Regions from separate parts of the Homo sapiens genome. Here all the other regions are linked to region 2. Evidence: promoter capture Hi-C in 16 types of primary human blood cells and fetal thymus (Javierre and others, 2016). All regions are on one chromosome and are shown on one strand. The core of a region is centred on a gene start or on the middle of the fragment in contact, and the rest is flanking DNA. Distances in the headings are between cores, read along the strand shown.

Region 1 (2,700 bases), core at 90-2,589, 340 kb after region 2:
CTCAGCTCACTGAAATCTCCGCCTCCCGTGCTCAAGCGATTCTCCTGCCTCAGCCCTTGCAGATTAGCTGCGACAGCAGGCGTCCGCCACAACGCCGGGCTAACTTTCCTATTTAACTTTTTTAGTTGAGACGGAGTTTCACCATTTTGGTTGCCCAGGCTAGTCTCGAACTCCTGAGCTCTAGTAATCCGCCCGCCGTGGTCTCCCAAGGTGCTGTGATTCAGGCCTGAGGCACCGCGCCCGGACACAAGTAGTGGATTAAGTTTACCAGTAATTGATCTGTCCACAGCCGCCCTAAGATTACTCACGTTCTATGCCTAATAAATAACACTAAGGCCGGGCACGGTGGCTCACGCCTGCAATCCCTGCACTTTGGGAGGCCAAGAAGGGCGGATCACCTGAGGTCGGGAGTTCGAGACCAGCCAGACCAACACAGAAAAGCCCCTTCTGTACTAAAAATAAAAAATTAGCCAAGCGTGGTGGCGCATGCCTGTAACCCCAGTTACTCGGGAGGTTGAGTCAGGAGAACCGCTTAAACCCGGGAGGGGGTGGTTGCGGTGAGCCGAGATTGCGTCATTGCACTACAGCCTGGACAAGAGCAACTCCATCTCAAAAACTAAACATGTAATGCTAGTGTAGTTAAGTCCCAGCCACCTAACATAGGAGTAAATTTCAGAAACGTGGGAATAAAACACATCACATACGTCATAAAAGGCTGCTGGTATTCCCAAACCATTTCCACCATCTTTTCCTGTGAATGTTTGCGATCGAAATACCTGAACAAGTTTCTAATGTTTCGCCTTCCCTTTCTCCTTAGCACATCCGCCATCTTAGGAAGATCGCTAAAAACGGCTCGGTTTAACTCAGTTAGAATCCCAAATTTACAAAACGAAACCCAAGTCGTCATCAGTTACAGCCCTTCGTGTGACGAAGGAGGTGGCCCTGAAAAGGGCCTTTTATGGGTGAGCTGTTAAATAAAAAGCCGGGGTGAGGCTCAGCCACCAAAGCCGTACAGAGTGCGTCCCTGGCGCTTGAGCGCGTAGACAACATCCATTGCAGTGACTGTCTTACGCTTGGCGTGCTCCGTGTAGGTTACGGCGTCCCGTATCACATTCTCCAGGAACACCTTAAGAACACCGCGGGTCTCCTCATAAATGAGGCCCGAAATGCGTTTCACGCCGCCGCGTCGGGCCAAGCGACGGATGGCGGGCTTCGTGATGCCCTGTATGTTGTCACGCAGCACTTTGCGATGGCGCTTGGCGCCTCCCTTTCCTAAACCTTTACCACCTTTGCCTCTACCAGACATGATCGAAGACAAACAACAACTCTTAACTTTTGCAACTTTGCTACACACTGAAGCCCCTTATATATCAATTATGCGGACCTTTTTGGAGACTGAATTGGAGGGGCGGGAACGAAACCTCTGTCTCCGCCTTTTCCGTAACTTACTGGGCGTCCCCTACACTATTGCCTTGGGAAGGAAAGGGGGCGGTGAGGGTAGGGGAAATGCAAGTTGATTTGACTCCTTCCTGTTTCCTTGTTTGGGTCTTGAGTGTAGGTTTCTGTGTCTTCTAGTCCAGTGCCTGTGGGCTCTCGAACTGATAATGTCTGTCTCCTAAAATCCTTATTATTTGCAAAAAGGAGGCAGTAACGCTACACTTGTCTACCGAATGGATAGACAAGAGAATAAAATTATTATTTCTTTTGAAACAGTTTTGCTCTGCCCCAGACTGGAGTGCAGTGGCGTGATCTCGGCTCACTGCAACCTCCGCCTCTCGGGTTCGAGCGATTCTTCTGCCTCAGCCCCTGCAGTAGCTGCAACTACAGGCGCGCGTCACCACGCCCGGCTAATTTTTGTATTTTTAGTAGAGATGGGGTTTCGCCATGTTGACTAGGCTGGTCTCGAACTCCTGACCTCAGGTGATCCACCCGCCTCGGCCTCCCAAAGTTCTGGGATTACAGGCGCCTAGCTTTAATTTTTAAATGTGAAGATTCTTTGAAAATGTATTTTTACTAATTTTTTTTTTTTGATACGGGGTCTCACTCTGTTGCCCAGGCTGGAGTGCAGTGGCGCTATCTCGGCTCACTGCAACCTCCGCCTTCTGGGTTCAAGCGATTCTCATGCCTCAGCCTCACGAGTAGCTGTGATTTCAGGCACGCGTCGCCACACCTGGGTAATTTTTGTATTTTCTTAGTAAAGACGGGGTTTCGCCATGTTGGCCAGGGTGGTCTCGAACTCCTGACTTCAGGTGATCCACCCACCTTGGCCTCACAAAGTGCTGGGATTACTGGCGTGAGCCACCACGCCCGGCCATTTTTATTAATTCTTAAAATGTAGCAATACTTCTTAAATTTGGCCAATCATGAGACTTAGCGTTTGGCAGAGACATATACATTCACATCGTTTTTGGCATTCCTAATAAAGAAAGACCTCTAGTAAGGGAAACCAATATTAATTGAAGTTTCATTCTTAGTTTTTCAATGTATAATGCAATATCTGAGGTGTAAAGATAAGGAATCCCAGGCTTGAAGACATTATCCTCTAATAAATGGCATTGTATTGTTGGCTCGATTCTGGAGTCTCACTACCTTGCTACCTACCACTGCTTTCATGCCACTAAAGCATACATGGTAAATCATGGTGAATAAAGGTTTGTAAATTAACAAAAATAATACTAATAAATTCTGTGAAATACTGTC
Region 2 (2,700 bases), core at 45-2,544:
CATTTGTTCTGGAAAATGAGGTGTCCCTTCCAGATGTTTGAGAGTCAGTGAGCAATCTATCGGGTCCCTTTTTACCTTACCTTGACAAAATAATTGATTATTTTGATTGTAGAGGATCTACAAATCAGGGTTTATTAGTGAAATAGAGACCACCAACCAAATCATGATAGATTTTTATGACACAGAAATAGGAGTTTATGGTTATAAGCCAGTATGATTTGGCGTGGGGGAGAGGAATTACTTATTATTGCAGCATAAGCTAATGTATCCAGATGGATACATCCAGGAAATTCAGAAGTATGAATTCATTAAGAAGACCAGATTCCTTTCTAGGTAAATATCCAACAAAATTGTGTGAACTTGAGCACTAAGAGGTATGCTAAAAGTGTTCATAGAAAACAGGTTTTTAAATATACATATATATTTTAATATATTAATATCAACATATCCCAAGAAAAAGCTTAGTGAAGTATTGCCAGTGGTCTACGTACAGCCTAATATCACTTTATATTATGATAAGCTTAGGAAAATGTCTAAAGTTTCTTTGGTTCTTTGTGGTAGAATTCTAGAACATTTAAATGTATTGAGCTAAAAGTAGTAAAAATCTCAAAATTAGAATGAACACAGATCTAAGATTGGGATTTTAAAATACTATGGCAGTTTTTCAAGCCTGGAAAGTTCAGTCATTAGGATTACAGCAAAAATAATTATTAGACACAAGAGGCATTTCACCTGCTCTGTCTCTTGGCCCCATATGCAGCCATAGTGACTGTCCTTTTTCTCCTTTTCTCCCTTGCCACAGCACCCACAATTCAGATTGCTTTCCTTTTTCCCTCATAACTTCTACCAACCATTTGCTTCTTTGGGGACAGATCTTCCCTAAGACAAATAGAAAATTGTAGCATGAATCATAAAATCTTAGCCTCTTAAATCCTTGCTGCACCTGAAAATTACCATGCGAGATCATTTCTTAATGTTGAGTTTTATGCCTAATTATTATTAGTAAATAGACTGAGCATCACATTCAATGGAAAGTTACATGACTATCTTATATATGCATGCTGTATCTGGTCTAAAGTTTCTATTTTCATGGCTAAAATAGCTACAAGGAACCTGATCATTGTCTTATCTTCTACTTTTATTCCCAATGGCAGGTAGGGCTTCCTAATACTCCTAACTCCTTCTAATCCAGCAGTAGTTCTTCAACATCAGTGTTCCTTTTGTACAACACTGGTTTCAGTTCTAGGAACATCTCAGGCTCTCTAAGATATCTGAGCCTTTTTTAAACTGTTTATTCTCCCAGGAATGACCTGGAAAATGTATTGACCACTGACCAACTTTTATTTTATTATTATTATTACTATTATTATTACTTTGTGTGTGTACGTGAGATGGAGTTTCGCTCTTTTGCCCAGGCTGGAGTGAAGTGGTGTGATCTTGGCTCACTGCAACCTCCACCTCGCGGGTTCAAGTGATTCTCCTGCCTCAGCCTCCCTAGTAGCTGGGATTACAGGCATGTGCTACCACGCCCGACTAATTTTTGTATTTTTAGTAGAGACGGGGTTTCAGCATGTTGGCTAGGCTAGTCTTGAACTCCTGACCTCAAGTGATCCACCTGCCTCAGAAACTGCTAAGATTACAGGCATGAGCCACGGCACCTGGCCACTGACCAACTTTGAAGACCAAGGATCAAGGATCAACTCCACATTGAAGATGTTGGAGCCTCACCATATTACCTCTGGCATCCCACCAAGAAGCCCCCCCCATATCCCCCTGACCTTCACCATGTCAATGTCCACCAGGCTGATTTCTACCTGCCGGTACTTGCATCTTATCGCATGAGAGCTTTCCCCACCTGCTGATCACACTTTGCCCACATTCATGGCAGGCCAGATGTTCCACTGAATTGGAGGTTTAGAATAGCTCCCAAGCAATTTTTGGTAAATGGTGTATGACTATCCCAGCTCCCTTACCCTTGAAGTTTGATCATTTTTAGGCATATTTTCAACATTGTTTCCCAGAGTTCCTCCTCTGAGGATTAAGAGGGGTTAAGAAGGATTAAGCTTGAATAGCCCAGAGTGGTATTCCTTGGTTTCTTTTCTTTTCTTTTTCACTTTGTTTTTTCCACACCAGTGTTTTCTGGATTAAACCACTTGCCCCTAAATCCTTGAATAAACCACCCCACCCCACCCCACCCCAGAAAAAAAACAGTAGGTTTTTGAAAGGTCATCCAATATGCTGTGGAAGAATAGGTAAGTAGTCAGGGGCAGAAGCAGGAAGGCAAGATTGATTCAGGCGAAAATTACGATGTCTCCAAAAGGAGTTGTGGCAGTAAGAGTGGTGAGATGCTGTAAGATCATGGATATGTAGTGAAGATAGAAGCAACAGAATCACCCAATAAATTGATGCGGAATGCGACACAAAGAAGAATCAGGCTGACTCCCAGGTATCTGACCAGAGAACTGTGAAGGATGGAATGGAGTGAGGGTGACTGTGGGTGCGACAGATTTGGGAGGGAATGAGATAAGGAGTCCAGTTTTGATGATTATTAGCTTCTAAGTGGAGATGATGAGTAGGTAGGAATACTGCAGTAGGATCAGTCTGCAGTTTGCGGGAGAGTCTGGGCTGGAGATATAATAATGTGAATTATCTGCACAGAAACAGGTTTAAGTTCATGACTCTGGATGAGACTCTGAAAGA
Region 3 (2,700 bases), core at 67-2,566, 310 kb after region 2:
TTTTTTTTTTTTTTTTAAATTTTTTTAAACACCTGCTTTTCGATTGGCTGAAATCTGTGTTCAGGAGATAGCACAGTCTACTTTGCCGAATATAGATTATAAGAGTTTAGCTCTTGCGTTTTACTAGAATCAATCACTTTCCTTCTTCTAAACAAGTATTTAAATACTTCACTGCGTCTGGATGTGGAATGCAGGGCAGCAAAGCTCGCGCCAAGGCTAAAACGCACTCTTCCAGGGCTGGTCTCCAGTTTTCTGTGGGCCGAGTGCACCGCCTCCTCCGCAAGGGCAACTACGCCAAGCGGGTCCGGGCCGGTGCGCCGGTGTACCTGGAGGCGGTGCTGGAGTACCTGACCGCCAAGATCCTGGAGTTGGCGGGCAACGCGGCCCGAGACAAGAAGACCCGCGTCACCCCCCGACGCCTGCAGCTCGCCATCCACGACGAGAAGCTCAACAAGCTGTTGGGCAAAGTTACTATCGCGCAGGGCGGTGTCCTGCCCAATATTCAGGCCGTGCTGTTGCCCTGTCTATACAAGTGACTGACTAGGCAAACAGGACTAATGAGAAAATGTTTAATATCTCAAGTAAGTGCTTTAATGTAGTCGGGAAGAAGCAAGTTCAGTAACGTTTACAAAACCTTGTAAAGTTTAGATGGACAGGGCCACTGCAGTGTTCAAGTTATCCTGCAGAAGAGGCTAGTGGGGGTGGTATCCTGGAATATCATCAATAGGACCCAACGAAAAGTAAATGATAAGAGTCGTTGGAAAACCTAAAATTAGCCTGTGCCTTAAAAATTCTCAACCGAAGCAAAACACCATTTGGGACAAAATAGAATTCAGTTAACATTTGTTGCTCACTGTTGTATGTCGGTGACTTCTTGGCTCGTGATTTCCCAGGTACATCACCCAGGAATCCTGCCTTATAATGGTCAAAGGTTTCCAGCTAGCAGCAGTCCAGGTGACTCAAGAAAACGGCACAAGATAAACTTCTCAAAACGTGGTCCTCCGAATCTGGCCCCACAACACATCTACTGAATGAGAATTAGCGTCTTCCAAGTCTTAAAGTAGTCGTTTACGGACTACAGCTTGAGAAGCGCAGAATTAGAACTTTAAGAAGTTAACGTTCTTGGATCGCAGACTAACCGAGAAGAGAGGATTCAAAAATGAAGTGATTCATCCAATCAGATTTTCCAGTAATTCACCAATCACATCGTTGGACTCTTCAGCCAATGGTTTTGTTGCGCGGGTCTTTTGAAAATCAACAAGGCCAATTAGAATGTTTCTGAGTATATATAAGGGCAGTTTCCACTCTGCCAAGTGGCTGAGTTTTTCTTTCAGGTAGTCTGAGATGGCCCGCACCAAGCAGACTGCACGCAAGTCCACCGGTGGCAAAGCGCCGCGCAAGCAGCTGGCCACTAAGGCGGCTCGGAAAAGCGCGCCGGCCACCGGCGGCGTGAAGAAACCTCATCGCTACCGTCCCGGCACCGTGGCTCTGCGCGAGATTCGCCGCTATCAGAAGTCGACTGAGCTGCTGATCCGCAAGTTGCCTTTCCAACGCCTGGTGCGAGAAATCGCTCAGGACTTCAAGACAGATCTGCGCTTTCAGAGTTCCGCGGTGATGGCCCTGCAGGAGGCCTGCGAGGCCTACTTGGTGGGGCTCTTTGAGGATACCAACCTGTGTGCCATCCATGCTAAGCGAGTGACTATCATGCCCAAGGACATTCAGCTCGCTCGCCGCATTCGTGGGGAGAGAGCGTAGAGGTTTCCGGGCAGTAATTCTATCCAACTTAAAAAGGCTCTTTTAAGAGCCGCCTACTTTCACCCGAAAATAGCTGTGATTAACTAATCAAATCTTTGAAACTAAACATTGGTTTTAGTACTTAAGTCCTCATTTGATTGGCTAAAGTTAATGGTAAGCTTGCTATATTTGTTCCCGTGCTTTTTCCCGAAAGTGCCAGATTGTCAGCGTCCTTTTCTAAACTGGCTTTTAGGGGTTTGGAGCTTCGATTTGGTAGTGGAAGGGGCCACCTGGGGGCGTTTATATACATTGTCTCAAGCGTTAGTCGCGTTGTCTACTTACACCCATTATAGATGGGATTTTTTTTCGTTGTGTATTTCTGGTTAATCCCTTTTAAAACTTTACAGGTATGAGCATTGGCAGTTGAGAGTAGGTAGGGATATCCTTGGTTGCTGCTTTTTCGTGTCTGAAGCAGCTATTTCCACAATTCCCCCTTTTTTTAAACAGTTCTTGGTTTTTCTGTGAAATGATCCATTTTTTAATTCAATATTAGAAATTGGCGGCAGAAACGAAAGCCAGATTGGCCTCTACATTACTGGCAGCATGGGCATTACGTGGGAACTTGTTAGAAGCTCCCAGGGCATTACATGGGAGCTTGTTTCAATCCCCATCTAGGGCTGGAGTCAATCTGCATATACCTCAGATGATTCTCATGAACACTGATTTAGGAAGCCTAGGTTGTTGGTTTTGGTCTCATCAGTAAAGGCATCCTGCCTGTGAACTCTTACAAGGAGTGAGCTTTTGCAAAATGCATGTTTATTTATGTTACAGAATGAAATATTCTATGAAATGTTCTCTAAAGCAAGTGCACAGAACAATCCCCTAAAATAGTTTGATTTCTTTACAGATCAGTTTTCTCAATGTAACATTACAGTCACATGGGAAGGCTTTAGAAAAATCTTTACC

Evidence for each region. The method cuts DNA at HindIII sites, captures the fragments that hold promoters and counts their contacts. A CHiCAGO score of 5 or more calls a contact.
Region 1: a contact is called between the fragment with the promoter of H4C6 here and a fragment that was not itself captured in region 2, in 9 of 17 cell types (total B cells, monocytes, M0 macrophages and 6 more). The highest score is 9.2, in total B cells.
Region 3: a contact is called between the fragment with the promoter of H3C8 here and a fragment that was not itself captured in region 2, in 17 of 17 cell types (erythroblasts, naive CD8 T cells, naive B cells and 14 more). The highest score is 12.1, in erythroblasts.

The regions. Positions count from the first base shown.
Region 1 is chr6:26,239,032-26,241,731 of GRCh38, reverse strand. H4C6 (H4 clustered histone 6) reads right to left here and starts at 1,339. Exons shown (of 1, transcript NM_003540.4): 1 at 939-1,339. The coding sequence starts at 1,306. The coding sequence ends at 995. RefSeq lists enhancers at 1,103-1,152, 1,613-1,712. The HindIII fragment of the contact is 5,393 bases long and covers 1-2,700 here.
Region 2 is chr6:26,583,434-26,586,133 of GRCh38, reverse strand. No RefSeq gene overlaps it. Among named protein-coding and RNA genes, the nearest start is that of TRY-GTA3-1, 7.7 kb to the right of the region's middle. The HindIII fragment of the contact is 1,543 bases long and covers 523-2,065 here.
Region 3 is chr6:26,270,029-26,272,728 of GRCh38, reverse strand. It overlaps H3C8 (H3 clustered histone 8), which reads left to right and starts at 1,316. Exons shown (of 1, transcript NM_003534.3): 1 at 1,316-1,811. The coding sequence starts at 1,345. The coding sequence ends at 1,755. It also overlaps the pseudogene H2AC10P. RefSeq lists enhancers at 208-547, 2,275-2,414. The HindIII fragment of the contact is 12,049 bases long and covers 1-1,915 here.